Linked DNA regions of Homo sapiens: region 2 is linked to region 1. The links are contacts of gene promoters, found by promoter capture Hi-C in human tissues and cell types (Jung and others, 2019). All regions are on one chromosome and are shown on one strand. Each heading gives the region's core, a stretch centred on a gene start or on the middle of the fragment in contact. The rest is flanking DNA. Distances are from core to core; before and after follow the strand shown. Region 1 holds the start of FAM91A1 (family with sequence similarity 91 member A1). Region 2 overlaps FBXO32 (F-box protein 32).

Region 1 (3,684 bases), core at 319-2,818:
CACTCCAGCCTGGGCAACAGGAGACTCTGTCTCAAAGAAATGAAAATAAAAATAAAAATAAATAAATAATCCTTATATACCATCACCGCCACCATTCCAAACTTCCCAAAAATGCCACTGCCGAGTGCCAACAGAAAACTGAATTTCACTCTCGACCAAGTATAATGGGAGGAAGCGAAGGTCAATCTATGACCAGAGCAGCAGTGCGTTATCTGTAGCCCATATCACTACTTTCGTAAGACTTAAAACCATCTGCTATGTTACGTATTTATTCATTTATTTGTTTACGTCTTTCTTTAGTAAAATGTAAGCTCCATGAAGGCAGTCTTTGTCTTGTTGACTGTTGCAAATTACCTGCACCTAGAGCAACGCACAGCACCTAGTAGGTGGTCAATAAATATCTATTAAACAATTGAGTAAAACAGACTAAAAAAATCGAGAATTAACTTTCAAAAACCTCATGTCACTCTTGTTGAAACATCTCTGATAAACCCATCTTGTCTGGAGGATAAAGTCCAACAAAACAAAGCACACAAGCACCTTCAAAATCTGGCCCTGACCACTTTTCCAGGCTCATCTGCTACCAGCCCCGCGCACTCAAAAAACTTCAACTCCAAACATGTCAGTCCAAACTCTGGTGATACAGTCACTTGCTACTCATGAGACATGTTCTTTCACTCATCCAAGCTTTGTAAAATGACTTTCCCTCCCCCTGGAAAAATCTTTATTCCCTCTTATTTAACTCTTATTCGTCCTCCAAGGCCCAATTTAAGTGCCTGCCTTAAAAATCCTTCCAACTCTCCCAGGATAATTTCTCCCTCCCTCTGCTCTCACATATACTACAATGCAGGTGTGTATGAGCTGCTATCATCCTGTATCGTATTCATTTGTTTCCCATCCCTTTCCCACCATCCTGAAATTCCGGAGGTCAAGGACCGTGTTTAAAATCTCTATCGCAGGTGCCTGGCTGAATGTATCCTGCGGGCAAAGGCGCCAGTCGAGTCCTGTGGACACCATGCCATCCCATTTAGCGATCGCCCCGTCCTGGCCCTGTGGCCCCACAGCCGTCCCCTCCTCGCCCTGGGCTGAAGGTCCGTCTCCCCAAGACCACGGAGGAGTAAAGGAAGGGAGTCAGCCGGCAGCAGCCCGCTCGGGCCCCGCGAGCGAGGCAAGCAGGTGACCGCTGGGCGGGCCGAATCCGTCAGGGGCCCGGTCCCAGGTTCCGGCCGTACCTGTCTCACGTTGGCCGGCAACTTGTTCCAGGGGTAGTTGTGCCGGATGTGGAACTCCACGTCTATGTTCATGATGCCGCGGCCAGGGCCGGCGGCCGGGGCCGCCACCGCGACCCACACTACGCCTCCCGCCTGCCCGCCCGCAGCCTGTCAGCGGAGCGACGCGGGAGGCCCCGCGCCTCACACTGCAGAAGGCCCAGGCTGCCCCATGGCCTAGGCTCCCGACAGTTCAGCGCCGCCCGGGCCAACCGAGTACAAGAGCAGCAGCGATTGGAGGCTGGATCGCCTGAACAGCTCCAAGTTTCTTCCTAGTTTCGGGCCGCCGGAAATGGCTCTGGGCACACGTCACTTCCGCCCGCTGGCGCGCGGCCGGAGGGGCGGGGCACGGACTGGCCTCTAGCCACGCCCTCTACAGGCTGCGGGGCGGGGCGACGACGAGGTACCGGGAGGTGCCCGGGTGAGCGTTCCCCGCCCGCGCGCTTCGTCTCCCCGTTTCAGTCTCTGAATGAACGGCGATAGTCGCTTGGGTCTGCGTTGCCGTTGCTGATGACCCAGTTTACTCAAATTGTAAAGCCGGAGGCACTGGGGTCGGTTTTCAGAGAAAAGCGACCTGGGAAGCGGGCCGGCAGTGGCTGGCTTTACATTGGAGTGCGGTGCGCTCGCGGGGGTTCTCCACAGGCCAGCCCGGAACCCGGGCCAGTGAGACGGGGCGGGGGGTTGCGGGGACGGGTCCAGGGCCCTGGAGAAAGAAATAATCTCTAAGTCAGGTCTCGCACCGGGTTGAGCGAGAAGCATGGGCAGTGGGAGAGCAAAGGTCTGGTAAGCCCTCTTCCCTTCCGCGGTGTGCTGCACGTCATTGGGCTCCACTTCCCAAGAAGATCCAAATTCTTACAATGCAGGGATTCAGGGAGCTGAAATTTTAAACAGTGGTGCTGACAGGTCGAGGCAGCCTACAGGGCTGACAGAGAGATACCCTTGCCAACTTTGTCATGCAGCCTGTCGGTTTCTGCTTTATTCTGCTCCACACAAATGCCTCCAGAGTCACTTAAAAGCAAAAATCCAGCATGTCTTAATTTCAGATTGAGTGATAAGGTCTTTGGGAATAATTTCTTTCAGAAGTTGTTACGCTGCCTTAGCAAACCCGTGACCATTATTCCTGGCAGCAACCAGAGACAAGTTCAGTGTTATTGCAACTGTTTTTCAGTTTTTAACAATGGTTTTAAATAATGTTTTATTATATACTGGGAGATGTATACTTAGAACTTTTTATAAGATACCTAGCTCACACCTCAACAGCTGGCAAGTCTGATGCTTAGCAGAAACCCCATTATGTCTGATGAAATAAAGGTGACAAGTACACACTGCCCTTGCTTAGATGTTTTGGTCTCCTATTATCCAACTATAATAACCCAAAGATAAGTGCTTTGAACCTTATGTTTACAGATCCTCATCAGCATAGCTAAGGTTAACTGAACTCTAACCGTGAGACATTTATTCAACAAATATTGATTACCTGCCCGCCATGTATTAAGGCCTTGACTTGACAATAGATTATTCCTCACAACCCTGATATTCCTACAACAGTAACCACTTACTATCCCAGTTTGATAGAGGAGGAGACTGAGGCTTGGCAGGGCTTCATGACTTGCTCGCAAGATCACACAGGTAGCACTGACAGAGCCAAACTGGAGCCGAAGGCTATCCTCACTCCAGAGCCATCCTTTCAGTTCCCCAACTCAGGCTCTCACTCACTGAACTCTTCTACCTCCTGTTCCAATTTAGACAATGTTCATTCAAAGTCAACGACATAAACATCCTCTAAAATAATGCTTTACAGTTCTAAGTGTGGAAGAACCCATATTCTTCCAAAGTCTAACTTAGATCTAATGCAATATAAGTAACAATGAAAATTAAAGTCAATTTAGCTTAAAAAAATCCCTGTAAACTATTATTTTAGCTAATGATAGCAGTTCAGCAGGTGAATGCCTGATAAACTCACTATATTGAGTTTAGTGGACACATCAAAAACTATAAAAGTGAACGTGGGATAAGTAGAGGTGAACCTACACCCATTAAATTAATAAGGCAAACAGACCTTTGAAAATGCGACCCTGTGACTAGAAAAGATTCTCACTCGGCAAGTAGCTGAGAAAAGCAGACACATGAAGGAGGAAATGGGAATGAGATAGAGCTATGTGGATGGGAAGAATTCAAATAACAAGCCCTTACGAGCAGGAACCAGTGATGGACTCTGGCTTAATACACAATCTTATTAAAGTACTGATCTGCCTCATTTCCCACCAAGGACCAGTCTTTGAGAGGATAGGAGTTCAAAGACGGTAAATTAACCCACAGGGCTCTATGACCCCCTCTGCTGGGAAGTTCAGGAACAGTACTGCTTCCCCAAGCATCAGAAAGCTGGAAACAGTCGCTCACTAGACTGACTCCACAT
Region 2 (3,999 bases), core at 1,304-3,803, 260 kb after region 1:
CTCCTCCCATTGCCTGCCTGAGTACTCGTTCAGTGTTCAAAGGAACACAATTGGAAAACATGGCCCTGTATTATGAATGATGATAATAATTTACCAGCTGTAGGATTTCTTTTTTTGAAACAGGGTCTCTGTCACCCAGGCTGGAGTGCAGTGGTGTGATCTCAGCTCACTGCAGCCTCCACCTCCTGGGTTCAGGTGATTCTTCTACCTTAGACTCCCCGGTAGCTAGGATTACAGGCATGCACCACCACACCCGGCTAATTTTTGTATTTTTTGGTAGAGACAGGGTTTCACCATGTTGGCCAGGCTGGTCTCGAACTCCTGACCTCAAGTGATCCGCCTGTCTCAGCCTCCCAAAGTGCTGGGATTACAGGCATGAGCCACCGCGCCCGGCCCCAACTGCAGGATTTGAGGCAAGTTATTCAGTCTCTCCATGCCTCACTTTCCTCATTTGGAAAATAGTTGCAATAGTGTCAACTCATAGCCATGGTATGAGATTTAATAAGTTAACATATAGAAAGCAGACGGCACAGTGCCTAATGCACAGTAAGTATTGTAAATGTATCAGCTGTTATTATTAAGGGCTGGCTCTGTGCAGGCCTTCTTCTAAGTCCTTTGCATGTATTAATTAACTCACCTAGTGAAGAATTGTAAATAGGAGTCATCACAGTGGCTAGCATTTATTGGGCGCTGTACTGAGTGCTTCTATGTATTATCTCATCTGCCCCACCCAGCAACAATGTAGGATAAGCTTTTTCTCATGTTATAAATGAGAACAATTAGAACAAGTAGTTAAGAATAATTTGGCTGATGCCTCATGCTTAGTAGGATGTGGCACAAGAACTGAACCCAGGCCTGTCCACAGAGGCTGTGCTTTCAACCACTGTACCTTCCTCCCACTGTCCTCTGTCCCAACCCTCCTTGGCTCTGAGCTTCCTTATATTGAGAGCTGTACTGGAACCCACGGAGCCTTAAAGGGCTTTTCTTTTTTTGTTTTTGTTTGTTTGTTTGTTTGTTTGTTTTTGAGATAGGGTCTTATTCCCCTTGCCCAAGCTAGAGTGCAGTGGCATGGTCCTAGGTCACTGCAGCCTTGGCCTCCTGGGCTCACATGATTCTCCCACCTCAGCCTCCCGAGTAGCTGGGACTACAGTCACTCGCCACCACACCCAGCTAATTTTTGTATTTTTAGTAGGGATGGCGTTTCACCATCTTGCCCAGGCTGATCTCGAACTTTTGGGCTCAAGCAATCCTCCCGCTTCAGCCTCCCAAAGTACCAGGATTACAGGCATGAGCCACTGAGCCCAGCCTCCACACAGAAGCTCAACTCTGCAGAGGAAAGAGAAATTGAGAGAGAGAGAAAGAAAAAAGACTTAATTACTTCAGTCTGGACTGTATTTTAAAACTTACTTTTTTAACAGTTTGGCCCAAAGAAAAGTACATTATTATAGGCAAATATAAAGTCAACTTTCAGAGTAAATGCTTTCTATTTTGCCAAAGTTCTGTCAGTCTCCTTCCAGCATAAAATTTTGTTTTCCTGCAAAATTTTTATATCTAATTCTATGGAGCCAATTTTTATTGGCAAAATAATTAATATAATAAAGAATGAAGGAAACAAATTAAGAGAACTGGGTCTTGGGGAAAAAATCAAATACAGTGACAGTATGCGGTGGGCAGGGCACTGTTTTGAAGCATGTGAGGAGTGACATAGACCCTAGTGGATGTTAGCCAAATGCTTGACTAGAGGAGCGAGAGTGACTAATTTTTCTTTTATACGTTTATATTCGAAAGGAAGAGGCATGTAAGCAGTTAACCACTTATCAGGAGGAAGGGCTTAGCATGGGGTCTGGGCAAGGATTTTGGAAAAGTTCAGGTTTGAAAATTTGACAGAGTGAACCCTGCCAAGTGGACTTGCCTTTAATAGGAGTTAATGTAATAATTGGCCTGGGAGTTTTAACCAAAAAAGTAGAGGCTTTGAAGTGTTGGAAACGAAAAGAAAATCTCATGGCAGTTTTATTAGCTCATATGATCAGCAGGAGATGATAAACGATAAATAGGTCTAGGGCCTTCTGCGGTTGGCAAAGACCTGAAGTTTGCAAACAATTGAGAGCTCTGCCCAGCAGCCTGGGGTAGAACCGAGCGGTATAAATTGTCAAGTCATAGATACTTTGAATGAAATAGGAGGCTGAAGTCCTTCTACATCTGAGATTGTTGGAGCTGGAAGGGATCTTCAGAGTCTTCTAAGCCATTCATTTTGGACATGGGGAGACTTCCCAGGGGAGCTGGGATCCAGATGTGCTGCCTGTCCATCCATGTTGCTCCCCTGCACCTCCCATTCTTCTCCATAGCTTAGCCTTCCCAAGGCCCCTTGCCACTGCTCCCTCCCCACCTCGTGCCTACCCTGCCTTGCTGGGGACACAGGAGAGAACTGCCCAGACCTAGTGTCTCCTGGAATCCTCCATGTGTTTAGGCTTCGATGTGCTTTGTACAGAGTTTGGCTCCTGTAAAAATTTGGGCAGGGAAATTGATACCCATTCTCAGGATATTTTCCCCTGAGCTAAGGAAGGGTTTCTTCATCCTGTATTATTTTTCCCCTGTGACCTCTCAGAGGTCACAGAACATTGATGGAAAAATGTGAGTAGTCCAAAATCAAGAGCTCACCCAGAACCAGCAGGGGCAGGACAAGGAACCGCAGTCCCAGGTGGTCTATTGACTTATCTGGATGGCAGCATCCTGTTGCTGTTCAAGACACATCAGCAAATACATATGCGGATTCCCAGGTGCAGATTCTTCCCACAGCGCTTTGTGCTTCCCTCCATGACAGCGTTTACTGTATTATTTCATATTATTTTATGATTATTTGTTTCTGCCTCTGGGTCTCTCACCAGCCTGAAGAGCTCAGTGCAGCCACTTCAGCACCAGGCCATAGTAGGCACTCAGGAGAGGTGGCTTGTGCTGGGCTAGTCTACAAGGGACATAAAATTAGACCCTGCCTTCAAGGATGTAGATCTGGGCAGGGTATCATGAGCTCATCAAAATTTAAAACAATAAAGGCTTAAATATATTAATAAGTTCAGGGATGTACCAGAAGCTCTTGGAGAAGCTCGCCATTAATTGCCAAGGTATCATCCACAGACCAGCAGTTTTCACAATGCTCCACGGAGGCCTCGGTTGAAATAGAGAAGTCTCAAGGGATGGTGGAGCTTGGGCCAAAGGCTTCTGGACCTGCCATTCCCAATGTGCACGTACACACACACACACACACACACACACACACACACACACACACCCTAGCACAGAGTCTCTGTGTTATTGTTTTCTACCTATTTAATTATTTGGGCTTCATTCATTCCACAGGTATTTGTTGAGCACCTTCTGTGTGCTGGGCACTCTTGTAGACACCCTGGACACAGTAGTGAAAAAAGATTAAAATTCCTTCCTTCATAGAGCTTAAGTTCCAGCAAGAATGTTCCTTTCAAAGTTTCTTTTAGAAAAAAAGCTCATGTTGCATGACAAAAAGAAGGATATTGCAAAATGTGTCTCAAAGAGATCCTAAGAATTCTAGGAAGGTGCAGTGAGTAAGGGAGTCACAAAAACAGAAAAGGCCTTTCAGAGGAAGTAGGTTTGAACTGGATCTGAGCAGGATGACCACGTGGCCGGGCAGAGAAGACTGGGGAGGCGAAGGCATTGAGGTCAGGCTGAGCCAGGTGTGTTTAGGTGCCAGTGAGTAAACCTACTTGGAGGGACCTGATGTCTGGAGGGGGGCCAGAGAGATGGGACTTGGGGTGGCAGGCTGGGCCACTCCATCCAGGGCAGTGAGGCCTTCAGGAAAGCAGCGAACCTTGTAATTGTGTGAACTGAGTAAAGCACATGCGCTATTTGGAGAGTCTTTAAGAGTGAAAGTTTCAAGCTTTGGAAATGTAGGGCGATCCCTCTGGCACCACTCAGCTCAGCGCACTCCACACTTCATTGAGGGTCATGGCCATGGTCTCCTGTCTGCAT

What was found. Contacts are between HindIII fragments. The study calls those that stand out against the background at their distance.
Region 2: a fragment that was not itself captured here is called in contact with the fragment with the promoter of FAM91A1 in region 1 in 2 of the 25 tissues and cell types used here (dorsolateral prefrontal cortex and hippocampus).

What each region holds. Positions count from the first base shown.
Region 1 is chr8:123,766,323-123,770,006 of GRCh38, reverse strand. It overlaps FAM91A1 (family with sequence similarity 91 member A1), which reads right to left and starts at 1,568. Exons shown (of 24, transcript NM_144963.4): 1 at 1,233-1,568. The coding sequence starts at 1,304. RefSeq lists a silencer at 1,233-1,382. The HindIII fragment of the contact is 9,142 bases long and covers 1-3,684 here.
Region 2 is chr8:123,506,726-123,510,724 of GRCh38, reverse strand. The region is part of intron 6 of FBXO32 (F-box protein 32); the gene reads left to right. Among named protein-coding and RNA genes, the nearest start is that of FBXO32, 32 kb to the left of the region's middle. RefSeq lists an enhancer at 3,696-3,999. The HindIII fragment of the contact is 4,582 bases long and covers 263-3,999 here.